Regions from separate parts of the Homo sapiens genome. Here regions 1, 2, 3, 4, 5 and 7 are each linked to region 6. The links are contacts of gene promoters, found by promoter capture Hi-C in blood cells and fetal thymus (Javierre and others, 2016). All regions are on one chromosome and are shown on one strand. Each heading gives the region's core, a stretch centred on a gene start or on the middle of the fragment in contact. The rest is flanking DNA. Distances are from core to core; before and after follow the strand shown.

Evidence for each region. The method cuts DNA at HindIII sites, captures the fragments that hold promoters and counts their contacts. A CHiCAGO score of 5 or more calls a contact.
Region 1: the fragment with the promoter of NDUFA5 here is called in contact with the fragment with the promoter of LSM8 in region 6 in 2 of 17 cell types (total B cells and total CD8 T cells); the score reaches 16.6 in total B cells.
Region 2: a fragment that was not itself captured here is called in contact with the fragment with the promoter of LSM8 in region 6 in 1 of 17 cell types (total B cells); the score reaches 5.1 in total B cells.
Region 3: a contact is called between the fragment with the promoter of IQUB here and the fragment with the promoter of LSM8 in region 6, in 2 of 17 cell types (total B cells and non-activated CD4 T cells). The highest score is 6.9, in total B cells.
Region 4: a fragment that was not itself captured here is called in contact with the fragment with the promoter of LSM8 in region 6 in 1 of 17 cell types (naive CD4 T cells); the score reaches 5.0 in naive CD4 T cells.
Region 5: a contact is called between a fragment that was not itself captured here and the fragment with the promoter of LSM8 in region 6, in 1 of 17 cell types (total CD8 T cells). The highest score is 6.0, in total CD8 T cells.
Region 7: a fragment that was not itself captured here is called in contact with the fragment with the promoter of LSM8 in region 6 in 1 of 17 cell types (naive CD8 T cells); the score reaches 6.4 in naive CD8 T cells.

The regions. Positions count from the first base shown.
Region 1 is chr7:123,556,537-123,560,040 of GRCh38, reverse strand. NDUFA5 (NADH:ubiquinone oxidoreductase subunit A5) reads left to right here and starts at 2,223. Exons shown (of 5, transcript NM_005000.5): 1 at 2,223-2,266; 2 at 2,593-2,637. The coding sequence starts at 2,246. RefSeq lists enhancers at 1,746-1,885, 2,146-2,195, 1,936-2,514, 1,751-2,950, 2,515-3,093. The HindIII fragment of the contact is 10,047 bases long and covers 1,225-3,504 here.
Region 2 is chr7:124,922,990-124,926,671 of GRCh38, reverse strand. The region is part of intron 2 of POT1 (protection of telomeres 1); the gene reads left to right. Among named protein-coding and RNA genes, the nearest start is that of POT1, 5.0 kb to the left of the region's middle. The HindIII fragment of the contact is 1,307 bases long and covers 1,415-2,721 here.
Region 3 is chr7:123,533,244-123,536,545 of GRCh38, reverse strand. It overlaps IQUB (IQ motif and ubiquitin domain containing), which reads left to right and starts at 1,951. Exons shown (of 13, transcript NM_178827.5): 1 at 1,951-2,054. It overlaps LOC124901740 (a long non-coding RNA gene), which reads right to left and starts at 2,015. Exons shown (of 2, transcript XR_007060507.1): 1 at 1,121-2,015; 2 at 287-941. RefSeq lists an enhancer at 1,065-1,204 and silencers at 1,275-1,404, 1,485-1,634, 1,655-1,884. The HindIII fragment of the contact is 3,094 bases long and covers 1-2,588 here.
Region 4 is chr7:112,458,459-112,462,177 of GRCh38, reverse strand. It overlaps IFRD1 (interferon related developmental regulator 1), which reads right to left. Exons shown (of 12, transcript NM_001550.4): 5 at 3,160-3,317; 6 at 262-312; 7 at 1-177. Among named protein-coding and RNA genes, the nearest start is that of IFRD1, 9.9 kb to the right of the region's middle. The HindIII fragment of the contact is 212 bases long and covers 1,145-1,356 here.
Region 5 is chr7:111,558,238-111,562,032 of GRCh38, reverse strand. IMMP2L (inner mitochondrial membrane peptidase subunit 2) reads left to right here. Exons shown (of 6, transcript NM_032549.4): 1 at 1-182. Among named protein-coding and RNA genes, the nearest start is that of IMMP2L, 2.4 kb to the left of the region's middle. RefSeq lists a silencer at 1-9. The HindIII fragment of the contact is 2,580 bases long and covers 701-3,280 here.
Region 6 is chr7:118,182,719-118,186,213 of GRCh38, reverse strand. It overlaps LSM8 (LSM8 homolog, U6 small nuclear RNA associated), which reads right to left and starts at 2,050. Exons shown (of 4, transcript NM_016200.5): 1 at 1,960-2,050; 2 at 520-560. The coding sequence starts at 1,990. It overlaps LOC105375470 (a long non-coding RNA gene), which reads left to right and starts at 2,246. Exons shown (of 4, transcript XR_927904.3): 1 at 2,246-2,299. The HindIII fragment of the contact is 4,305 bases long and covers 974-3,495 here.
Region 7 is chr7:112,391,188-112,394,698 of GRCh38, reverse strand. LOC105375456 (a long non-coding RNA gene) reads left to right here and starts at 3,362. Exons shown (of 3, transcript XR_927870.3): 1 at 3,362-3,416. RefSeq lists an enhancer at 1,922-2,431. The HindIII fragment of the contact is 2,924 bases long and covers 628-3,511 here.

The sequences.
Region 1 (3,504 bases), core at 974-3,473, 5.4 Mb before region 6:
GGGATGTTAAACCAACTTTGTATTTTTGAAATAAATATCATTTATTTGTGGTGTATAATTTTTTTTTCATATGCTACTGAATTTGGTTTGCTAGTACTTTTCTGAGTATTTTGTGTTTATTAATAAGGGATATTGGCCTGAAGTTTTATTTTCTTTTTTCTTTCCTTTTTTTTTTTTTTTTTTGTGAGACGGAATCTTGCTCTGTCACCCAGGCTAGAGTGCAATGGCCCAATCTTGGCTCACTGCAACCTCTGCCTCCTGAGTTTGAGTGATTCTCCTGTCTCAGCCTCCAGAGTAGCTGAGATTACAGGCACACACCACAAGGCCTGGCTAATTTTTGTATTTTTAGTAGAGAGAAGGTTTTGTCATGTTGGCCAGGCTGTCTCAAACCCTTGACCTCAGGTGATCCTCCTGCCTCAGCTTCCCAAAGTGCTGGGATTACAGGCATGAGCCACCAGGCCCAGCCGAAGTTTTCTTTTCTTGTTGATTTCTTTGTCTGGTTGGAATCAGAGTCCACACCTGGCTGAAGTTTTTGTTTCTTGTTGATTTCTTTGTCTGGTTGGAATCAGAGTAATACTTGCCTTATAGAATTAGTTGTTAATTGTTTCCTCCTCTTCTATATTTTGGAATAGTTTCTTAAGTGTTATTCTTTAATTGTTCAGTGGAATTTACCAGCGAAGCCATCTGGACCTGTGCTTTTCCTTCTGGATAGGTTTTTTTTTTTTTCTTGCTAATTCAATTTCTTTAATTATGTTAGATCTAGTCAGATTTTTCTTTATGCCTTCTTGAGTTGATTTAGGTAGTTTGTGTTTTTCTAGGAATCTGGCCATTTTATCTACTTTATCTTTTTTAAGCATAGTTGTTCATAGTATTCCTTCTTATTCCTGTTTATTTCAGCAAGGCTATTAGTGATGGTTCTTTTATTCTTGCTTGTATTAAATCTTCTCTCTTTTTTTTCTTAGTTTCACTAAAGGTTTGCCAATTTTGTTGATCCTTTTAGGGAACCAATTCCTGGTTTCATTGATTTTCTTTATTGATATTCTGTCTCCTTCTTTTCTAATCTTTAATATTTCCTTTCTTCTGTTTGCTTTTGGTTTAGCTTTCATTTTTTCTAGTCTCATGCCTCTAATGAAAGGCCTCATCTCTTCCAACTCATTCTCTTCAACTGTTGCCTAAGTTGTTTGTATATCTGAAACATAAATTTGATGGTGTCACTTAGAAGCTTAAAAGTCTTCTCATTGTTCCCATTCCTTAAAAAGTAAAATTCAAATTTTGTATAATGGCAAACAACACCTTTCATAATCTTAACCAGTTTACCTTAACAATCAAACCCACCTTTCCAATCACATAAAATCACCTGGAATTTATATATACATTTTTAACCTCTTTTCCTTTGTACTTGTGTTTTCTCAATTTGTTCTTTTCTCCTACTGACTTTTTAGAAAGTCACCCACGCTTTTTAGTTATTTCCTTTTCCCTGGTACCATCACACTTTGCATCAACTTCTTTTAGAACAGTTACCAAATTATTTATTAATACACGCCTTCTTCATTATTCTTTGAATTCCAGGATGTGAAATCCCATTTTAGAAATTATGTCCCAGTAACTGACACATAGTGAGTGGTCAGTGTTTGTGGAGGTAGGAAAAAGTGGTATGGTCTGATATCATTTCATCTGGAAATAAGATGATGTATTTCAGCCAGTGAAATCGAAAAGAGCGATGGAAAATGACCTCACACTCCATAGGGCTTTGGTTCGTAAGACACAGAGAATACTGATATCCTTGTGCGAAGAACTAACTTGCTGTTGAGAGATCAATTCAGAGGATGCTCAAGCTCCGTTATCACTTTCATTTTACTAAACTGAGAAAGGAAGGTTGAGGAATGCATCAACGGTTAAGCACAGTGCAGGTTCCTACAGCGACTGGAGTTTTTTGGTAGTTGGGAGTGTTTCCCTCAATCTTTGGGCAAGCCGTCAGCAGTGGCAGGAACAGGAACAGACAGCTGGGAAACCCTTTCTTTCCCCAATCGTCTTCTAGCTTAGCTTTAGGCTTGTATGCCCATCGCGCATGCGTCAATTTTTCTCTTTTAAGATGGGCGGGGCAGAGTCTTTGCTCCTTTGGCGATCCTGAAGGGGTGGAGCTAAGCTGTTTCCAGGGTGACAGAGTGGCGACCTCGGTGGTCGATTGAGCAGGTCTGAGAATTGTTCCCAAAGGGTTGTGCGTCACCGAGTCGTTGGCGCTGTCATGGCGGGTGTGCTGAAGAAGGTGAGACGAATGGAGGTCACTGTTGGAATTTAGACTGTGGGGGTAGACTCAGTCCGATAGCCCTACTTCCCGCGGGTGTTGACCCCTACTGTCGCGGGCTCGGCGGTGCTTTTCGGGGACTCGTTCTGCATGCCTTACCGGGTAGGGCAGGTTAGTGGTTCCGCTCCGAGAGTCAGGAAAAAAGCTCCAAACAAGCGAGACTGAGAGACCAGTAGCTGGCTTTAGACCAGTTTTAGCCGGGGGATTCGTGGTTTTGTATTTCCTTAGCGTGCTGGATGTATGGAAACCGTAGTAAACAGCATGAATCGTGTTTTGTTTTTGAACAGACCACTGGCCTTGTGGGATTGGCTGTGTGCAATACTCCTCACGAGGTATGTACCTTTGTTCTTTCTTCGTTCTTGAATTCCCAAGGAAGACTAAATTCCTGTCACTTTGCTTATTGCAGGGTTAACGGGATACAGATGTTTCAAGCCCTTAATTACAAGCCGCGTGAGCTCTTGAGACACGGGCGCTGTCCACCTACTTCGTTGATCCGATGTCACATTTTTATTTATTTTTGCCATGACCTCTTTATTAAGCCAGTTTTCTTGTTGACTTTTTCCTTGACATTTTCATGGCTTCACTTGTGCTTGCTTCTGTCAGCGCCATCTCAAATTTATATCTCCGTTTTCCATCTTTTCTCCTTGCCTTACCGTTTCTGCTTAGGTGCGTTGGATTACATATATTTAGGCTTACTAAAGGTACTGCCCCCTTTTCCTTCTGTTAGGTCTTTTCCATCTGTATTCACGAATGTTTTCATCAAAAAAACCCACAAAATTTTTTTATTCTTCTTGTCCCTTCTATAATCACACCATTTCTTTGCTTCACTTTACAGATAACTCAAAAGAGTTATCTCTATTTTCTCCAATTTCTTTCTTATTCACCCTTGAATGCACTCAGTCACCCTTGGCGTTTTTCAAGTTCACCAATTATCTCCATGCTGCCAAATCCAATGGTCAGCTCATATTTCTCACCTTCATTGACCTAATAGCAGCGTTTTTTGACACATTTGACACTTTTTCCATCACGCTCTTTTCAAGTTCACCAGTTATCTCCATGTTGCCAAATCCAATGGTCAGCTTATGTTTCTCACCTTCATTGACCTAATAGCAGCGTTTTTTTTTTTTTGACACATTTGACACTTTTTCCATCATGCGCTTTCTTTACTGGGCTTCAGGACTCCCCCAGTCTCCTGATTT
Region 2 (3,682 bases), core at 819-3,318, 6.7 Mb before region 6:
CATATCTTTGTGATTTTGAATACTGCTGTGGTATACATATGAGTGCAGGTCTCTTTTTTATTTAATGATTTCTTTTCCTTTGGGTACATACCCAGTAGTGGGATTGCTGGGTCAAATGGTAGTTCTATTTTTAGTTATTCGAAAACTCATTATACTGTTTTCCATAGAGGTTGTACTAATGTACATTCTCACCGACAGTGTATAACAATTCCTTTTTCTTTGCACCCCAATGTCTGTTTTTTCTTTGTCTTTTTAATACCCATTCTGATTGGTGTAAGGTGATATTTCATTGTGGTTTTAATCTGCATTTTACTGATGATTAGTTATATTGAACATTTTATCATGTGCTTGTTGGCTATTTGTTTATCTTCTTCTGAAAAATGTTCATGTCCTTAGCCCACTTTTTAATGGGCTTATTTGGGGGTTTTTTGGTTGAGTCCCTTGTAAATTCTGGATATTAGTCCTCTGTTGAATGTATAGTTTGCAAATATTTTCTCTCATTCCTGAGATTGTTCATTCTGTTATTTCTTTTGTAGCACAGAAGCTTTTTAGCTTAATTAAGTTTCATTTGTCTATTTGTGTTTTTATTGCCTGTGCTTTTGAGGTCTTAGTCATGAATTGTTTGCCTAAACCAATATCTAGAAGAGTTTTTCCTAGGTTTTCTTCTATATTTTTATAGTTTTGGGTCTTACATTCAAATCTTTAATCCGTCTTAAGTTTATTTTCGTGTATGGTGACATATACGTTCCAGTTTCACTCTTCTGCATGTGGCAATCCCGTTTTCCCAGCACCATTAATTGAAAAGTGTGTCTTCTCCCCAGTGTAGTGTTCTTGCCATCTTTGTCATAGATCAGTTGGCTGTAAGTATTTGACTTTATTTCTGGTTTCTCTATTTTGTTCCATTTATCTGTGTGTCTATTTTTATACTAGTACCATGCTATTTTGGTTGCTGTAGCCTTGTAATACATTTTGAAGTGAGGCAACGTGTACCTCCAGCATTGTTCTTTTTGATTAGGATTGCTTTGGCAATTTGGGTTCTTTTTTGGTTCCATATGAACTTTAGAATTGTTTTTTTCTAATTCTGTGAAGAATGACATCAGTAATTTGATAAGGATTGCATTGAATCTGTAGCTTTGGGAAGTATGTTCATTTTAATAATATTAATTCTTCTGATCCACGAGCATGGGATGTTTTTCCATTTTTTTATGTTGTTTACAATTTATTTCATCCGTCCTTTGTAGTTTTCCTTGCAGAGATCTTTCACCTTGTTAGTTAAATATATTCCTAGGCATTTTATTTTATTTTTGTAGCTGTTGTAAATGGGATTGCATTCTTGATTTGGTACTCAGCTAGATTTTTATTGATGTATAGAAACATTACTGATTTTTGTACATTGATTTTGTATCCTGAAGCTTTACTTAATTTACCAACCTAAGAGATTTTTGGTGGAGTCTTGAGGGCTTTCTGTATACAAGATCATATCATTAGCCAACTATGATAATTTGCTACTTCTTTCCCAATTTGGATGCCTTTTGTTTTTTTCCCTTGCCTCATTGTTCTGGCTAGGACTTGCAGTACTATATTGAGTAAGAGTGGTGAAAGTGGGTATCCTTATCTTGTTCCAATTCTTAGAGGGAATCTTTTCAACTTTTCCCCAATTCAGTATTATGTTGGCTGTGGATTTGTCATACATGACCTTTATTATGTTGAGGGATGTTCCTTCTCTATCTAGTTTGTTGAGGATTTTTGTCATGAATGGAAGATGAATTTTATCAAATGCTTTTTCTTCATCTGTTGGGATGATCATCTGGTTTTTGTCCTTAATTCTGTTTATGTGATGTATAACACTTACTGATTTGCGTATGTTGAACTATTCTTGCGTCCCTGAGATAAATCTCACTTGATCATGGTGTATGATCTTTTTGACATGCTGTTGGATTCAATTTGCTAGTATTTTGTTAATAATTTTGCATCGATGTCATCAGAGATACTAGTCTGTAGTTTTTGTTTTTGTGTTCTTTGTCTGGTTTTGATATCAGGGTGATACCTTGTAGAATGAGTTAGGGAGAATTCCCTCCTCAGTAGTTTTGGAATAGTTTCAGGTGGATTGGTGTTAGTTCTTTTTGTGTTTTGTACATCTAGGCTGTGAATCCATCTGGTCCTGGACTTTCTTTTATTGGGATTTTTTTATTACTGATACAGTCTTGCTGTCATCATTGATCTGTTCAGGAATTCTCTTTCTTCCTGGGTCAGTCTTGGGAGGCTGTATGTTTCCAGCAATTTATCCATTTTCTCTTGGTTTTCTAGTTTATGGGCATATAGTTATACATAGTAGTCTCTAATTACCTTTAGAATTTCTGTGGTATCAGTTGTAATGTCTCTTTTTTCCTCTCTGATTTTATTTGGATCTTTTCTCTCCTTTTCTTGGTTAGTCTAGCTGGTAGTTCATCAATTTTGTTTCTCTCTTTAAATAACCAACTTTTTTTTCATTGATCCTTTGGGTTTTTTTTTTTTTGGATTTTTGTTCATTTAGTTCTGCTCTGATCTTTGTTATTTCTTTGCTTCTGCTAACTCTGACTTTCGTTTGTTCTTGTTTTTCTGGTTTCATTGAGGTGTGATGCTAGTGTGTTAATTTGTGATCTTTCTACTTTTTTTCACTACTGAGTCCCGCGTTGTTTGCTTATCTGGGAAATTTTTTATATCTCTTTTATTTATTAAGCTTATTCTGGCAGGATATAAAATTTTGGCTTACAGTTTTTTTGTTTGTTTGTTTGTTTGTTTGAGCACTTGGAAAATGTTATTCTTTCTCTTCTGGCCTGTAAGATTTCTGCTGAAAAGTCCAGTTAGTTTTATAATGTTTTCTTTATAGGTGACTAGATAGATGCTTTTCTCTTGGTAATTTTAAGATTTTTTTTTTTTTAACTTTGACTTTACACATTCTGAATATAATGTGTATGATGAAGTCCTTTTTGCAGTGTATTTTCCTGGGGATAGCTGGGCCTCCTGTATCTGGATGTCTGATGCTCTTGCTAGACTTAGGAAGTTTTCATTGATTATTTCCTTAAATAGGTTTTTTTAACTTTCTAATCTCTCTTCCCCCTTAGGAATACTGATAATTCATATGTTTGTTTGCTTTATGTAGTCCTGGACATCTCAAATGGCTTTGCTCATTCCTTTTTATGCTTTTTCCTATTTTTGCCTGACCGCATTATTTCAAAATTTCGTTCTGTCTTCAGGTTCTGAGATTCTTTCTTTTGCTTGATCTAATCTGTTATTGAATCTTTTGAATATATTTTGTATTTTCTTCAATTTTTTAATTCATGGTTTCCGTTTTCTTTTCTTTTTTTAAAGATGTCTGTCTCATTGGTAAATCTCTCATTCATAAACAGAATTCATTTTCTGATTTCTTTGTATTGGTTTTCAGATTTCTCTTGAATCTCATTAAACTTCTTTAAAATCACTATTTTGAATTCTTTATCTGGCATTTCGAGGAATTTTTTTTAATTGATATATATTGCTAGATAATTGTTGTGGTCTTTTGGTGATATCATATTTCCCTGCTTTTTCATGTTTCCTGTGCCCTTCCTTTGATATCTGTGCATCTAGTGTAGCAATTGCTTGTTCTATTTTTTTTGAAATTGCATTTGTAGCAAAGAAATGTTTTCTGAAGATGTATGTATGT
Region 3 (3,302 bases), core at 702-3,201, 5.4 Mb before region 6:
CCCATCCAAGAAAGCCTAATTCTAGTGGTTACCTCTATGCCCATTTTTCCCCTTTACTTTTCATGAATGTGTGGAAATGATTAAAATGAATTTACTTTTACTGATCATTATTAAAACAAAGCCAATTTTATCTGAATATATATTTCACTATTCTAGTAAAAATATATTTTAAAATGGGATGACTGAAAAAAATGGCATTGGATATTACAAAGTTATTGGGGAGATGAGAGTGCAATTTCAGCAGAACAGTATAAAGAAATAAATGAAGACAATGAACATTTATGAATAAGGGAATGGACCTGTATTAATTTTATTAATCCTTTTAACATATCAAATCAAATTAAACAGTACTGTAATGGTTAAAAAATCTGGGACCTGGAGTTAGATTGCTTAGGTTTAATCCTGGTTCCCTCATTAAACTTTGTGTGCCTTAGTTTTCTCATTTACAAAATGGGTCTAATAGCAGTTTCTCCCTAATAAAATCGTTGTAAGGATTAAATTAGAAATCTATGTACGGTGCCTCATGACAATGAATACTTCATAAATGTTAGCTGCTATTATGAGATAGCAACATGTAGTTTGTTACTAAATTTCCAAGAGGAACATACTTGACTTGACCTCCAATACTATCCTGTGGTTCTTTAAAAGTTTTCTTATTCATTGATAGGCCGGGCGCGGTGGCTCACTCCTGTAATCCCCAACACTTTTGAAGGCGGATTGCTTGAGGCTAGGAGTTCCAGATCAGCCTGGCCAACATGGTGAAACCCCATCTCTACTAAAAATACCAAAATTAGCCGGGGGTGGTGGCGGGCGCCTGTAATCTCAGCTACTCAGGAGGCTGAGGCAGGAGAATCGCGGGAGCCAGGGAGGTAGAGGTTGCATTGAGCCGAGATCGAACCACTGCACTTCAACCTGGGCGACAGAGCAAGACTCTGTATACACTAGAAAAAAAAAAAAAAAAAAGAATTTGTTGTTAGACAAAATTTAGTTTATTAACTAATTTAGTGATTAACAAAAGTTCTTCTAAGCAGAATTATTTGATAGCTACTATCTCCCTTTTCTCTTTGGCTGCCAGGAAGCTGAGAGCCAAGTTGTTAGTTTAACAAAAGCAAGTAGGCACCTGACAGTTTCTCGCCTCTGACTTCATCGTGATGATTTCTCTGACTCGGATTTTTTTTATATCTGTAAAATTAAACTGCTGTCAGTGTTTGGTTTAGAGAGCTGTGCCGTTTCACAAGTGTAAAAGATCTTGGAGAGAAGTTAGTGTCCTGATTCACTTGGATCTAGGTAGCCAGTTGGTAACAGCCTCCGCCTCTGGCTCCTCCCCTTCTCCCTGCCGCGTCCCTCCTCCCCGCCCCTTCGCCTCTGGCCCCGCCCCTTCTCCCTGCCGCTTCCCTCCTCCACGCCCGCTCGCCTCTGACTCCTCCCCTTCTCCCTGACGCGTCCCTCTTCCTGTCTCTTCGCCTCTGGCTCCTCCCCTTTCTCCTGCCATGTTTCTTCTCCCCGCCCCCTCGCCTCTGGCTCCTCCCCCTTTTCCCTATCGCGTTCCTCCTTTGCAGCCCCCATCCCCCTCCTCTGGCTCCTCTTCTTCCCTACCGCGATCCTCCTTCCAGACCCCGGCCCCCAGCCCGCCTCTAGCTCCTTCCCTTATTTCCTGCCGCGCTCCTCCTTCCCGACACCGCCCCTCCGCCTCTGGCTACTCCTCTTCTCTCCTGCCGCACTCCTCCTTCCCGGCCCCACCTCCCCGCCTCTGGCTCATCCCCTTCTCTTCTGCCGCCCTCCTCCTTCCCGGCCCCGCCCCCAGTCTTTGGCTCCTCCCCCTACCCTGCCGCGCTCCTCCTTCCCGGCCCCTCCCCGCTGCCCTCTTCTGGCTCCTCCCCCCCACCCGCCTCTGGCTCCTCTCCTTCCCACCCCTGCCGTGCTCCGGCAGGAAGAGGTGGTGCCAGGGCCGTTGCTAGGATACGACCAACAGCTGAGAACGCGGCGAGTATGGAAGCTGCGTCTTAGGAGCCTGGGAAAGCACTTCGACGAGAATAGTTTGGTTTCGTACACAGGTAGGAGAACAGATTTTGACTGCGGCCTCCTGGTCCGACGCTTAGATCCAGCCTAGAGCCGGTGACAGCCGCGCTGGACTCTGGGTTCTGTGTGCTGGGCAGTGATTCCCACCTGAGCGCCTGGGGCTGCCTAGTCGGTCAGGAATGTTCCGACTTTACTTTAAAAACCGTGCGAAGCATCTCATCTTTCTCGGCTCCTTTTTTGGCTTCCCCTCTCTGATTTGGGACTTGAACCAGCAGCATCAAGCTAGGAGGTACACCTCACCTCACACCCTGGGTGCTTGTCACGGTAATTGCATAGAAGATGTGTGTATAACCCACACCTGGCACTAGAGACTCTTAGCCTTCCGTGGCCACCATTCTCATATTAAGTCGAGAGATTTTAGACTTTCCTCACCTGGCACTCTCACTCCTTCCTCTCCACCCTTGGTCTTTGCCTCTTAACAAACCTAAAAATTCAACAGATCTATTTGGTAGAAGGCAATACTGGATCCCTGCCTCACTAATTATACTACATTCTAAATGTGTTAAGCTTTAAATGGTAGGGAATGAAATGTAGGTGAAAAGGGAGACTTTTTTGTATGCAAACATGATAGAGGTTGCTTTTTAAACAATAAGATTTAAACATTTTCATTTGAATAGATAATACATAAAAAAATAGTTCGAATAGTAAAAAGAATGAAGAGTGAAAATCCTCCATCTACCCATTTCTCCCCATCTCCAGGCCACCTTCCACAGGTGTTTTAGACATACGCAAATATGTAGTTACACCTGTAACATTGTGCATACTCTTCTGTGATTGGCTTTTACACTTAAGACTGTGTGTCCAGTTGTTTTCTATCAATATTTACAGATCTGTCTCATTTATGCATTTATGGATGAATTTATGTATTTATGTTTCATTGTGAGAAGGTGTTTCGAAGCATGTCAGGAAATTTGGAAACTCTCATAAGCAAAAAGATTGATAAATGTCACTACCTAACAATCTAAAACTTTTATATAGTAAGAGAAAAACAACATCAAACATACAATGGGAAATATAAGGGCAACACACAACAAAGGGATATTTAATTATTAGGACTCATAAAACAATATGAGGATGTAAGGAAACAGTCAAGGGGAACTTCTTGGGGCTATAATAGAAAACAGTTTGATGGAATTTAACAAAATTAAGATCTGTATGCCCTTTGACTTGTCCATTCTAATTCTGGGAACTCATTTTCAGTATACTTACACATATATACAGAG
Region 4 (3,719 bases), core at 1-2,500, 5.7 Mb after region 6:
CTCAAGCTTTTTCTTCACTTCATTGATTGGGCATATGGTCAGCAGTAGTGTCCATGCAAGAAGAGAGCTGATATGAAGCACTGTATTAGGAGTGCTGCAAATAACAGTAGTGTCTTTCTCTTTGAGATAGGATTTAGTGAAGATATTTTCCAAACATTCCAGAGTTGAGTATAGTTCCTAATGCATAAGAATATGAAGTAAGATAACCATCTTAAATTAGAAATAACTGCAGATAACTAGAATCAAAGGTTTTTTACTTACAGTAATGTCATCTGTGGCAATAAAACAGCAAACACCAAAGCAAGTTGCACACTAAAAAAAAAAATATATATATATAGACATTAATGATTTTATTTCTTATTAATTCTACATCTTCCTGCTTTTATAATTCAACGTGAAAATGTTCTCAGCAGCATAATATATTAGGTCCCAAACATTATACATAAAAGAGGTGAGGAGAGAAAGAATATTGAACTAAGATCAAAGGAAGTGCGTTTCAGCTCAAGCTCTGCTACTAAATTCACAGCATGACTTTAACAAAGTGATTCTGTTCCTCTTCAGTCTTCTTTTATTGATCCATAAAATCAAAAGCATGCAAAAGAATTACATAATTTCTGAAACAATTGCAGCTCCATAATCTATAATTTAAATTATTGAATCATTTTTATGAGTCTATGTCAGTAAAGCATTCTGAAAGGGTGAACTATCCCCTTGTTTCCTTTCTGTATGCTTTACAGGTGCTTACTAGATCATTAAACTTCAACTGTAATTCAAAGATAGAAAGCTTAGACATATGAGCTAAAGAAGCCTACCCTCTATCAAAAAGCCTTTAAAACACATTACAATTCCATTGGTTTTTAAGCTGTTACAACTATATTCTTTTGTTCTTATGAAGACTCTACTATGAAAACTTCTAAAAGAAATCAGCTTCCAAGAAATAAGCACACAGGAGCAGAAATTTCATAAAATGTAAATAATTGTCTTCAAACTTCCCACCTAATTAATTAATTAATCCCATTAACTCAGATTTCACTTATTCTGGATTATGCTGAAAAGAGGCTGGGAATCATATAATTGCCTTTTGTTTGGGGAGGGGAAGGGCTAAACAAAAGTGAGTATAGTATATGATTACAAAGGTAAAGCTTATCGAATAAAACATACTCAGAACACAACACTTACACAAGCCATCTACTTGCAACATAAACAGAAGCCTTCAATTCTCAGAACATTTGTTTTAACAAATTAATCCATATAAAAATAGAATTTGTAATCTGAGATTTTATTATTCTCCATTTCCCCTTTCTCCACATTTTGTCACTAAAATTCCCTCATGTTGTTCTAAGCATTATTAAAGCTTTAAGTCTTTAAAGTCACCATTGGTATCAGGCCCAGGTTTTAGCCAGTCTGTTCCAGTACTATGAGGATATCTGTGATATTAATCTGCTTGGTATCACTATTTTATTGTCATTATATCATCCTAGTAAAAATTGGACACTGTTAAAATCTAAAAGTAGCCTAAGCATTAAAGGAAATTTTCAATCCATAATCCCTACTGCTAAGCAAGCAGCAGAAGCAAGGCTACATCGTTCCTTTTGATGACTCTAAGAAAAACAGCCAATTAAAGAACTAGGACTGGCTGGGTGCGGTGGCTCACACCCATAATCTCAACACTTTTGAGAGACCAAAGCAGGAGGATCACTTGAGCCCAGGAGCTCAAGGCCAGCCTGGGCAATACAGCAAGACCCATCTCTACAAAATATTAAAAGCGAGCCAGACATGGTGGTACATGCCTATAGTCCCAGCTACTCAGGAGGCTGAGGCAGGAGGATAACCTGAGCCCAGGAGGTGGAGGCTGCAGTGAGCCATGATTGTGCTACTGTACTCCAGCCTGGGTAACAGAGTGAGACCTTGTCAAAAAAAAAAAAAAAAAAAAAAACCCTAGGACTGCCTCAATTTAATATGGATTCCATCTGCTAAATGGGGAGGCTAAGGTTTTTTAAAAATTCACAGCAACTTGGAAGTATGGAAAAAAAAGTCTTTAAATGACAAAAAAACTTACATACAATCAAAATTAAGTGACTGCTCCAAAAATCTACCCAGCAGAGTGTTTTCTGTCATTCTAGCATGAAATTATACCAATAGTTCCACATGATTTAAAAGCTGCACATATTCACCCAAAAAGAAGAAAAGAAAAAGTTAAGTAGCAAAAGCTAATTAAATATTTCAGAATTACTAACTACTGGAGGGCACAGAGATTACTATGAAGTTGCCAAACTCCAATTTCTTTGCCTCCAGGGCAAACAGCTAGACTATTCCCAGCCTCCAGGTGGCTGGTAAGCCAAGGAACTAGATGCAAAAGTGATGTGCTCTGGCTGAGTCTGTCACCTAGCTACCCTGGCTGCCATATCGAGAGAACCTAGAGGTGGGCAGAGCTGCAGTGGAGGCCTGGGGTTCCAGCCAATTTACATTGGGTGGTGATGATAAGAAGAAGAAATAAATTTTTACCAAGCTACTTAGACAAAGATTAATGTTACTTACCTTAAGTAACATTATTACTTACCTTAAGTAATACTAACAAGGAAGCTGGATTTGGATAATAAATATTAAAAGTATTAAAATGTTTCAAGCTTAAACTGATTCACTTGTTTAAAAAAACAGCTTAGGATCACATGTTATTTTTCCAAATCCACTAAGACCACCTCAGTGTCTTCTGTTTTCTGTGACACAGTAAAACATCTCCATATGATCACTTGTATCACTTATTACCGCACCAAAAACAAAAAATAAAACCCCCAAAACCCAAAATCTAAAGTCAAGTGTTGCAAGAGGTAAACATCCAACAATTAGAGAATGAAAGCTTTCTCAAACCCCAAAATTAGAAGACTTTCACAAATCAGAATTTCAGTTTCCTATGTCTACCCAAATCCATAAATATAGAATTATCTTTTTTGTTGTTGTTGTTAAAATACAGTGTGTAGCTTTGTCTCCCAGGCTACAGTTCAGTGGCATGATTATAGCTCACCGCTGCCTCAAACTCCTGGACTTACAAGATCCTCTCTCTTGCCTCAGCCTCTTGAGTAGCTGGTACAGTACTATAGGCGCACCACGTCTGGGTGTCATGAATAGACAGATCTATAAATGTAAATATCTTATACTTACAGTTTGCCTAGCCTGCATACTAGCTGACCCATCACAAATGATTTTCTTTAGGATTGGTCCAAGAGTTTTCAAAATCTCTTCACTTTCAATTCCAGGGCCCAGCTGAATACAAAGAACAGATGCTAACGCTGCAGCTGCACGTTGCTCATCACTCTTACCTATAAAAGCAGCCAAGATGCAATCACGATAGTCTTTTCAGTAGACTAACTTACTAAGACAGTTATTTCCCAAATTTGATCAATGACAAAATAGCATTTACCATTTTTGAAACCCCATGCTCCAGGCTTTGATGTAAGTTACAAACTTAGGCTAAAGAGCTCAAACTATAGAAACAGACCTCACTCAAATCCTAGATCCCACTTATTAGCCAAATGATCATCGATTAGTTACTCTTATTCTCTAAATAGAATTCCTCATCTGTAAAATGGAGATTAGTATCTATCTTAAGGGATTATTTTAACAGTTCAACTAAATGTGTTTCAAGCCAATTTCTATCTTCAAACTCCTTAATGTACTCATATAAACAGTGCTCAAATTGCCCTTGAATTAATCTCCTAAGC
Region 5 (3,795 bases), core at 741-3,240, 6.6 Mb after region 6:
GGGGGCGCGCTGCCTTCTGCCTGGAAGTGTTGGGCAGGTGGTGGGAGAGCGTCAGGCTTGAACAACATGATTTTAAAGCACGTGTCTGTCTGTCGTTTTTTACTTTTAGGGTTTTGGCCAAATTGGGCGAGGGCACAAAATAACCACTTACCCCTTCTCACCGAGGAAGAGCGGGAGAAAGGGTAAGTAAGGAATGGTCAGGGGTGGAAGGACCTAGGACTTTATCCTGAGAGCGAGCGAGAGAGAGAAGGGCTAGATGTCCAGAACTGCTCGTGGGGAACTTGGGCCCAGATTCTACCTTTTCATCGGGAACTGGAGGACCCACCTTCAAAGTCACAGGCTCCAGGCCCCGGACTGTTTTCAGCCTCACACAGTCTATAGAGTTTAACAGCTTGGGCATGTGGATCCCTTTTAGCCCCTTGACCCGACAGAAAACTGCACTTCCCCTTTACCTGTTTTTACCTTGGAACATTGGTCCTCTCTAGTTGTCTGTCTCCGGCCCCTATCTTATTAGCCAGCTTTGACTAATCCCTGAGACCATAGCACTAAAGAATCCAGGTCCTGTTTGATAATGAACAGTAACCCCCCTAGGGATGTTTACATTTTAAAAGGGTACTCCTGAAAAAATCCTTTAGGACCCCAAAGCATAAAGTTAGTAACAAGATTACAAGTGTTGAAGTTCTTTGGGATCTCTCAAGCTTACAGAAGAAGATGTTTTGAGGGGAGAGAGATGACCAGGCTGGGCCTTTTTCTCTGGGCTTTCACTCTTGGTACCTCCTGGCAAGCATTCCATTCACTTTTGAAAAGTTGCCAAAAAGGACACTGAAGTTCTCTGAGGCTTACTGTGATTTTCAGTGTGGTCTATTTCATTGGTTCTTCTGTGGGACTTTTCTATCACTTCTTTAATACACTGCTTCCCTCTCCCCTGTATGGTGAAATGAAACACAGCTCCTCTCACAAGGTTGGGAGCTCATTATGCATCCTATATGTCACATATAAATAACCGTTTTAAATTAGTTGAAATTCAGATTAGCTACAAGCAGGAATGTAGTAAAACTGCATTCTTGGATTCTTACACAGGAAAAGTAGAATTGCCCTCTGTGATAGGCTGCCTATTCTGATACTGGCTGCCTGTGTCCTGAACGTGCCTATTTGTTTGTGCTCAAGTGATAGGTGACCACATAATTTATGGAAAACAGGAAGTGATTGTTTATTGATAATGGGTTCCTTCATTGATTCAATAGCTAATTCTCTCTTACCATGTGCTACGCACTTTTATCAGCACTTTGATAAAAGTAGGATGGTGAGAATGATGAGATTGTATTGGAGATGGCTGTTTTGGGGTAGGCCTTTCACCAGTTTTGTGGATTTTCTCAATAGTTACATGTTAATTTACAAGACTTTCCCTGTACTACTGATCATAGTGGTTTGCAGGTCTATACAGTGTTGTGGGAGAACAGAATTATTATTCCGCCTTTCTAGTACTTTCAGTAATAAACTTACAAGGATGGCTGACCTTGATGATTTGTTTCCTATAATGAATAATGTTATAGTCATTTTCCAGTGTACGAGTATAATAATTAGATGAGGATAACTTTTGTAGTTGTTCCATAAGAAGGACCTAATATTAGGAATCATGGAGAGTGTAAAGGATGATGTACTTAGAAAAATAAATTCGAAAGTAGACCATTTTTAACTTGCATGGGTTTCTGTGCATTTAGCCTCATTTAAAAGATCTAAGCTAGAATAGTTCTTTGTCTTTTTCTGGTTATAAGAGTAATAAAAAGTCAAAAAAAAGTTATTTAGAATTAAATCTGGGAGGGTATAAAAGGCAATAAGTGAGTTTCCTATGAGTCCACTTTCAGATGACCACTTAACAATTTGATACTTGTTTCTTCAACTTTTTGTTCCATATATACACATACTAAATATGCAGCTTAAGTATATGTTAAACATGTATACATCTTAACTGCGTATTATATATGGAACATATGTGGAACATAATACATGTTTTATATATATATATTTCACTGTTATTTGATAAAATTGTAAATTTCTTTCTTTTTCTCCTTCTTCTTGGCTATTTACCACCCCTCCTCACTCCACCCCACAACTTCATGTAGAAGTAGCATGACTTTTACAGTCTTTTGGACATGAGCTTGATTTCTGGCTCTTATTTTATTAGCTGTGTCACTTTGGGCCATTAAAATTTCTCTGCTGCTTGATTTCTTATCCATCAAAACAGAACAAAGAGTATATATAAAAGAATGTGTGAAAAAACAGTGCCTGGCATAGAAGTACTTACTTTTAAATTTCCCTCCCTGTTTTTCTATGTGGTCACCCATTACTTTCCTATGATCTTCCTTTTGATTGTGGAAAGCCATGTAGTGCCTAACTTTCCTATAGCTGTTAAGCCTCCCTGGGATTTGCTTTTCACAGGGGTTCACCTGGTGTATCTGATCCTAGAATTTCTGGGACGAGGACTGACACCTGATGTGGCCTTATCAGATCATTCCACAGCCTTGGATAAAGAGTGTCAGCTTGAAAAATGAAGGGAAAGAATTTCTATAATGTGTTTAAAAAGCCCTGACACTATTCTTAAAGTGAGAAAGACATATTACTGTATTTAGCTGAGTACTTAAACTTAGGATTTCCATTTTGGAAATGTCTTTGGTTTATAAGGATTACAATAAAAATGCTGATGCTTCATGTCCAAACTGTCATGATTTTGCCAAGTTGTGGATTTAATATACAGCTTAGCTGTGTATTTAGTATATCTGATACTGCTCTGGAAACTGAGAAAGACAAGTTCACAGACATCTGATTTCACACCAGACATCTGGTTTCACTTTACTGAGGAGTATGTTTTGTCAGTAGATTATAGGCATATTAACTGTACTGCTATAGTTTGTGGCATTTCTCTCATAAGCTGTGGTCTGTAGGGTTTAGTATGATGTTTTAGTCAAATGACAGCCCACCGAAAATGAGCACCTGGTCAGATAAGCACATTTCCCATAGGTTTCTTCTAGTGTCATTGTTCTTACAAGTTAACAAGGCAAAATCATTCTATCTTTGGTGGCTTTTGTATTTTTTGTGGAAGCAAGAAAATATTCTTAAAGAAAAGCCTTACTTAAGAACCCATTGTATTCCACAAGTTCATTTTCAAGTCTGTTGTTTGTAAAGTTAACAATGTACTTATAGGAATAAATAGCATTTAGATTTCCAGATCAGAACCCCAGGAAATCTAGTACTTACTTTCCTAAAGGTACTAAGGAAAGCTTTTTAAACTCATTGTGTGCTTATTATATATTAGTGGTACTGTAGACTCTAATCAACATATATAATAGTGTTTTGGAGGTAAGTGTCTCCTGAGTGCCAACCTAGAATGGCTGGACCACGTCTCCCTCCATTTTGAGGTAGTGAGGGGTATAGAAAAAGCTCTGGAGGTTGTCATTCTTAGGTTTTCAGGCAGGGCCTGTTATTGCTTAACTGTTGACCTTGGACACAAATTCCTCATCTATAAATGGGATAATTACTTATGATTACTGTGAAATTCAGTGAGTGAGTGTAATGTGGCACAGAATCTGCCGTAAAATAAATTCTCAGTAAATAGTTGTTTCATTTTTCCTCAAAGTCCTAGACACAAGAACAAAGATACCCTTCTATCCCTTGCCCTTGCATCCAGATTAAGTCACTGGCCTGGACCTGTGGCTCCATTGGAGGGGAACTACCCATGGTATTGGGGATTTGGTAGTGAGGACTCAGAAGGGGTCATGCAGAATAATGACAAAGGAG
Region 6 (3,495 bases), core at 801-3,300:
CAACTTCAAGGAACAAGCCAATTTTACATATATATGTGTATATATAGAGAGTCAATCATCATAATGTGTCCTACAGAAGACATGTCACACAACCTAAAAACAAAGAATATTAAGATTGTATACAAGCCTTAAATGTTATCTAGATATTAATAGTATCTAAATCATTAAAAAGTTACTAAGCATATGCAAAATTTCAAAAAAATTCTGATTCATGTGGTGCTGAATGGGGAAGGAAATAAAAATGGAAGAAGAAAAGTAAGTTTAATAAAGGTCTACAGACTAGGAGCTCTCTGAGGGCAGAATCTATTATTCTAGCTCCGAGAAACCTTGTAGGTAACACACAATGTTTATTAGTGAGGAAAACATGGATTGACAGCAAAGTGATAAAGAGCTGAATTATAATAAAATTGCACTACGGGTGTAATGTGCTGTCTAGGCATTAGAGATTAGAGGTTTCACATAAAACTTGCAACCAATAAACCTACAGGAAAGCAGAGAATGAAAATTCCAAAGACTTACCACAATCATTCTCCCATCTGATGTAATAACGGCAACAGTTCCTGATAACTGAATCAAAGAAAGTGTTTCTTAGGGAATGCAAATTGAAAACAGACTCTGGCAAGGGAATGATTTGAATTTTTAGAATAAATATGACAACTAGGTATAAGTATTCAACACAGCCACTAAGTTCACTACATAAAAACGTTAAAAGTTTCTTAGACGCCAAGGCAGGAGGATCACTTGAGGTGAGACCAGCTTGGGCAACACAGCGATACCCCCATCTCTATTACCCTGGCCTGGTGACCTATAGTCCCAGCTACTCAGGAGGCAGAGGCAGAGGCAGGAGGATTGCTTGGGCTCAGGAGTTCAAGGTTGCATTGAGCCATGATCAAGCCACTGCACTCCAGCCTGGGCAACAGAGTGAGACCCTCGACTCAAAAAAAGAAAAAAAAAAAAAAACTTAAAAAAAGCTTCTGTTTTTGTCTTTGTGATAATTACATGATTAAAAAAGGGAAAAAATAGAAAAAGAAAACCTCTTTCTGTATGTGATCGGTGTATCTTATCTCAAAATATCCTGGATTTTTGACACTTTTCTACTAGGAAGGTTACCAATCTATTATTTCAGGCAGGATATTTCGTTTCTTAGGCCTGTTTATTTCTAAAATGAAAAGTGGATGAGTACTAAATTAATCGATGTTGGACGATTTTCCAGCATGTTAAAAAACTGTCTTCCAGGACAGGCTTCTGTAATTCAAAAGTAAAGAAACTATATAAGCAGTGTCACAGGGTACCAATAACGCATCATTAAAAGCATTCGGTATTTAATTTTTGTCACCCAGTTTGTACCTGAGCTTAACGTAGTGTTTTTGTCCTAAGACTTTAAAACGGTAACACTTGTAAAGTCTATTTTAAGACTTCCCATGGGGTTGTTACTTGCTCCTCACTATAATCCATTACAACAGCAACCATTTTTTTTCATTCTACCAACAAGTTGGGACTTCAAGTGGTAAAGGGACAGAAACAGTCTGTGAACCATCGTTAAACTTTTTGCTATCCTCGAACGAGCAAATTATGTGAATAAAACAAGTACAAAGATTTGCAAAACTGTTGTCGCCGCCAGGACGACTGTTCATCTTATTCACAAACTTTAACACTTATGCCATAGGGAAATAGTAAGTAAGAATCAAGAGCGTACATTTTTTTTAAGACAGAAAAGTTCGGAATAATCACACTGGGTTTTTATTTGGGTTTTGCAGGCAAAATGGAAAGGACCCCTGGGCCCGCAGCAGCGGGAAGGCTCGAGGCGCCGCCGGCGAACTCTGGGTCGTTCCGGGGCCCTCATCTCCTCGCCCGCCCCCAGGATCCCGCCGAGGCCAGGCCTCCCAACCTCCCACCGATCCCCGACCGCGGCCTCTCCGCGACCCCGGCTCACGCCCGCGGCGGCCAGCTTGAGGATACGGTTGATGTAGTTCTCCAAAGCGGACGTCATGCTGTTCGGCCCGGCGGTTCCGGGTAACGCAGCGGTGCCGACAGCAAGCAGAACTGAAAGGGCGCGCCAGAACCCGGCAGCGGATAGCGCCTGCGGGTCGCAGCAAATATCGTGAGAGTTGCTGCTCCGCAGCCCTGTGAGTCGGAAATTGGGACGAACTGGCCAACCAAACAGAAGCCGCACAGCGGTGACGAGAGAGTGCGCGTGCGCAGTGTGTTTTCTCTGTAATTCTGGGCCGTGTTCCGGAAGCCTCGTAAGACAAAAGCGAACGAGAGGCGGAAAAAAGGAAGACGCTTCCTGAAGTTGGGGGTATGAGACAGAAGTTGGGGGTATGAGACAGAAGTTGGGGGAGAGTGGGTTTCCAATCCGAGTAAAAGGCAGTGTGGTGGAAGTTAACAAGAGAAAATGTTGAGACGAGGTAGAGCAGGCAGGAATAAACGAAGTAAGGTGTTTTTATTAGGAGTGAAGGAGAGAGACGAGTGCTGTTGTGTGAAACGTAGGTGCGGGTAGTTGAATCCCTAGTTTTCTGCAGCAGAAGCCGAAAATAACGCTAAAAATAAGTTCAGTTGCCCGGGACAGAGTTGCGCACGTTATAACCACACGGTGTACGCCTCTTAAGAACTCAGCAGTGAAATACACTTTCGTATGTTCTGCTTTTGTCTCTAAAAGTGTTCCAAAATGGAGGTGTTTTTACTTTTTAAAGAAACTAAATGCAAATAGGCAAAGGTGTGTGACCATCCCTTAGAAAACGAATGTCCACGCTTCTGCCACGCCAGGATGGTCTACCTTTCTTCAGGGTGAAATTAGTAAGTAAAAGGCTGCTGCAGCACCGAGAAAGGACCGATGCAGGAAGGATGCAGGAAGGCACCAAACTTGGTTCTAATCTTGGCTCTGCTAACAAATTGGTGTCATTGCACAGGTCACTTCAATTCTTCTGGGCCTCAGTTTCGTTAGATAGTCCCATAGGTATCATTTCAGATATTTCCCAATGCGATACTGTTCCCACTTCATTTACTGTTGCCCTAACTTGAGAGAGCTTGAAGTTAGAAAGAGATTTATACACAAAACACCAGCAGGAGCGATTTCCCTTTTTTGCAAAATATCTTTATAATTTCAGTTAAACATGTATTTTCTTAAGATTTGTGGCTTTGTAATAACTCTTGCAATGTCAGCAGTTTTCCTCGGAAAAGGAAGCATTTCTTAATTAGAGCATACCCACAAGATACTCCCAAATAGTTAATATTTTATATTCTGGAACTTATTCCTATCTGTTTGAAATCAAATGTAGTCAGGAATTAGATTGTGAATGTCTCATATTCTCAGGGTAACAAATGAAAGTGTCTTCCGCTAATGAAAGAACAAAGATAATTGTGTGATTTGCAAATGTTAGGTGTTGAACCAAAACCCAAAGACTAATTAATGATTAACGAGGTGTTAGGAGTTTTGTTAAAAAAAGAAATTGCTGGGCATGTTGGTGGGTTCCTGTAACCCCAGCTACTCTGGAG
Region 7 (3,511 bases), core at 840-3,339, 5.8 Mb after region 6:
GTTTAGGTTGTCAAGAGGGTGCTTCATACTCAATAGTCCTAAGATCCTAGGTTTTATGGCATTGTCACAGGTAGAACAGGAATAGATAAGACCATCAAAGGGCCAGGCATGGTGGCTCACTCCTGTAATCCCAGCACTTTGGGAGGCCGAGGTGGGCAGATCACCTGAGGTCACGAGTTCAAAACCAGTTTGGCCAACATGGCGAAACCCCCTGTCTACTAAAAATACAAAAATTAGCTGGGCGTGCGGGTGCACACCTGTAATCCCAGCTACTCAGGAGGCTGAGACAGGAGAATCGCTTGAACCCAGGAGGCAGAGGTTGCAGTGAGCCGAGATGGCGCCACTGCCCTCCAGCCTAGGCAACAGGGCAAGACTCTATCTCAAAAAAAAAAAAAAAAAAAAAAGACCATCAAAGGAAGATCATATGAGAAAGGAAAAGGGCTTAGGGCAGAGCACTGAGGATTTTACATTAAGAAAGAAAGAAGGGAAGCAGGCAGGGGACCAACCAGTCCTATCAGCAGCCTTGGATGGAGCTGGGGTAATGTGAGCAGAGGAGGAAGAGGCAAATTGGAGGGCAAGGAGCTGCCACCTTGGCTCTTTGCTCTCACAGGTGGGATGCTAGAAGCTTGTTCCATGTAGAGGGAGCTGAAGGTGGGGGAGATGGATCAACAGTTTCTCATTCTTCCTGAGGACTTCCACATACCAAGCAGAGATTCTCTGATCCTAGGATTCAGTAATCTGAGGGAAAGGGATGGGAATTGCATTATGCCATGCTTGCATTGCTATAAAGAAATATCTGAGGCTGGATAATTTCTAAGAAAAGAGGTTTAATTGGCTTACAGTTCCGCAGGCTCTACAGGAAGCATAGCGCCAGCATCTCACAATCATGACAGAAGATGAAGAGGGAGCAGGAGCAAGAGAGAGGTGAGGAGGTGCCACACACTTTTAAACAACCAGATCTCACGAAAACTCAGTCACTATTGCAAGAACAGCACCAAGGGGACGGTGTTAGAGCATTCATGAGAAATCCGTCCTCATGATCTAATCACCCTCCCACCAGCGGCCACCTCCAACACTGGGGATTATATTTTGACATGAGATTTGGGTGGGGACAAGTATCCAAACTATATCAGGGACATTAACTGCACACAGCAGAACAACAAACGAAATCAGTCACCCCTACCTCCCACACTGTATCTGCACCTGCTCTTTTAGGTATGGGCAATACGTTCCAACTGACATTTCACTGGTGCCCGCAAAGTTCCAGACGCTGTTCAGGATACTGAGGATTTAGAAATAGTTTAAATGCAGTTACTACCCCAAGGAGCCTACAGCAAGGGGAGGAAAGCAAACATATTTATAAATAAATTAGAATTCAGTGTGATGAGTCTAACTATAAAAACGTGTAAGGAACAGGAGTAATAAAGAGGAGAAAGTGAAGAACTCTGCTTGGATGAGAATAGAAGGACGGGTGGTCAGGAATGCCCAGCTAGATGTAGATGACCCCAAGTCATAAAGGAAATCTTACATTTTATATCACACACTCTGTTTAAGATTTATTCATTCAAACAATATTTACTGAATGCCTATTATGTGCCAGGCACTATTCCTTTTTTTTTTTTTTTTTTGAAACAGAGTCTAGCTCTGTCGCCCAGGCTGGAGTGCAGTGGCGCGATCTCGGCTCACTGCAAGCTCCGCCTCCCGGGTTCACGCCATTCTCCTGCCTCAGCCTCCCCAGTAGCTGGGACAACAGGCGCCTGCCACCATGCCCGGCTAATTTTTTTTTGTATTATTAGTAGAGACAGGGTTTCACCGTGTTAGCCAGGATGGTCTCGATCTCCTGACCTCGTGATCCACCCTCCTCGGCCTCCCAAAGTGCTGGGATTACAGGCGTGAGCCACCGCGCGCGGCCTGTGCCAGGCACTATTCTAAAGCAGCCAACAAAACTGACAAAAATCCCTGCTCTTATGGAGCTTGTAAGTTAGTGAGTGGAGACAGATAACAGGTAAACAACTACACAGCATGTGAAAGGGTAAGGGACGGAGGAGCCGGGCACGGTGGCTCACACATGTAACCCCAGCATTTTGGAAGGCCAAGGCGGGCGGATCACTCGGGGGGAGTTTGTGAGAAGCCTGGGCAACATGGTGATACATCGTCTATTCAAAAAAATAAAAATAAAAGATAACCGGGCATGATGGCACGTGTCTGTGGACCCAGCTACTTGGGAGGTTGAGAGAAGGATCACTTGAGCCCAGAAGGTTGAGTCTGCAGTGAGCTGTGATTGTGCCACTGCTCTCCAGCCTTGGCGACAGAGAGAAACTCTGTCTCAAAAAAAAAAATTTCAATGAAGAAAAATAAGATTGGAAGAGAGGATCAGGAAGGCCTGAGGGAGAGTGATTTTTATTTTTTAAAAGATATTCAGGGGAAGCCTCACTAAAAACAGAATATTTGAGCAAATCCCTGAAGGAAATGAGGAAGAAAGCCATGTGGACATAGAATAGTGTTCCAGGAAGAGGGAACAGCAAATGCAAAGGTTCTGAGGTAGAAGCATGGCTGGTGGTGCTGAGGCAGCCGCGTGCCTGGTGGTTCTAAGGTAGACGCGTGCCCGGTGTTTCTGAGGCGGGCGCATGCCCGGTGGCTCTAAGGCGGGCGCGTGCCCGGTGTTTCTGAGGCAGCCGCGGGCCCGGTGTTTCAGAGGCGGACGCATGCCCGGTGTTTCTGAGGCGGGCGCGTGCCCGGTGGCTCTAAGGCGGGCGCGTGCCCGGTGTTTCTGAGGCAGCCGCGGGCCCGGTGTTTCAGAGGCGGACGCGTGCCCGGTGTTTCAGAGGCGGACGCATGCCCGGTGGCTCTAAGGCGGGCGCGTGCCCGGTGTTTCTGAGGCAGCCGCGGGCCCAGTGTTTCAGAGGCGGACGCGTGCCCGGTGTTTCTGAGGCGGGCGCATGCCCGGTGGCTCTAAGGCGGGCGCGTGCCCGGTGTTTCTGAGGCAGCCGCGGGCCCGGTGTTTCAGAGGCGGACGCGTGCCCGGTGTTTCTGAGGCGGGCGCGTGCCCGGTGTTTCAGAGGCAGCCGCGGGCCCGGTGTTTCAGAGGCGGACGCGTGCCCGGTGTTTCAGAGGCGGACGCATGCCCGGTGGCTCTAAGGCGGGCACGTGCCCGGTGTTTCTGAGGCAGCCGCGGGCCCAGTGTTTCAGAGGCGGACGCGTGCCCGGTGTTTCTGAGGCGGGCGCATGCCCGGTGGCTCTAAGGCGGGCGCGTGCCCGGTGTTTCTGAGGCAGCCGCGGGCCCAGTGTTTCAGAGGCGGACGCGTGCCCGGTGTTTCTGAGGCGGGCGCGTGCCCGGTGTTTCTGAGGCGGACGCGTGCCCGGTGGCTCTGAGGCAGACGCGTGCCTGGTATATTGGGAGAACAGCATAGAACAAAGTGAGTGGGAGCAACGAGAGCAATAAGAAATAAATTAGAAAGCTAAATCAGCTGAGTTAAATAAGTAATAAGTTAGATAAGTTAGATAACCGGTT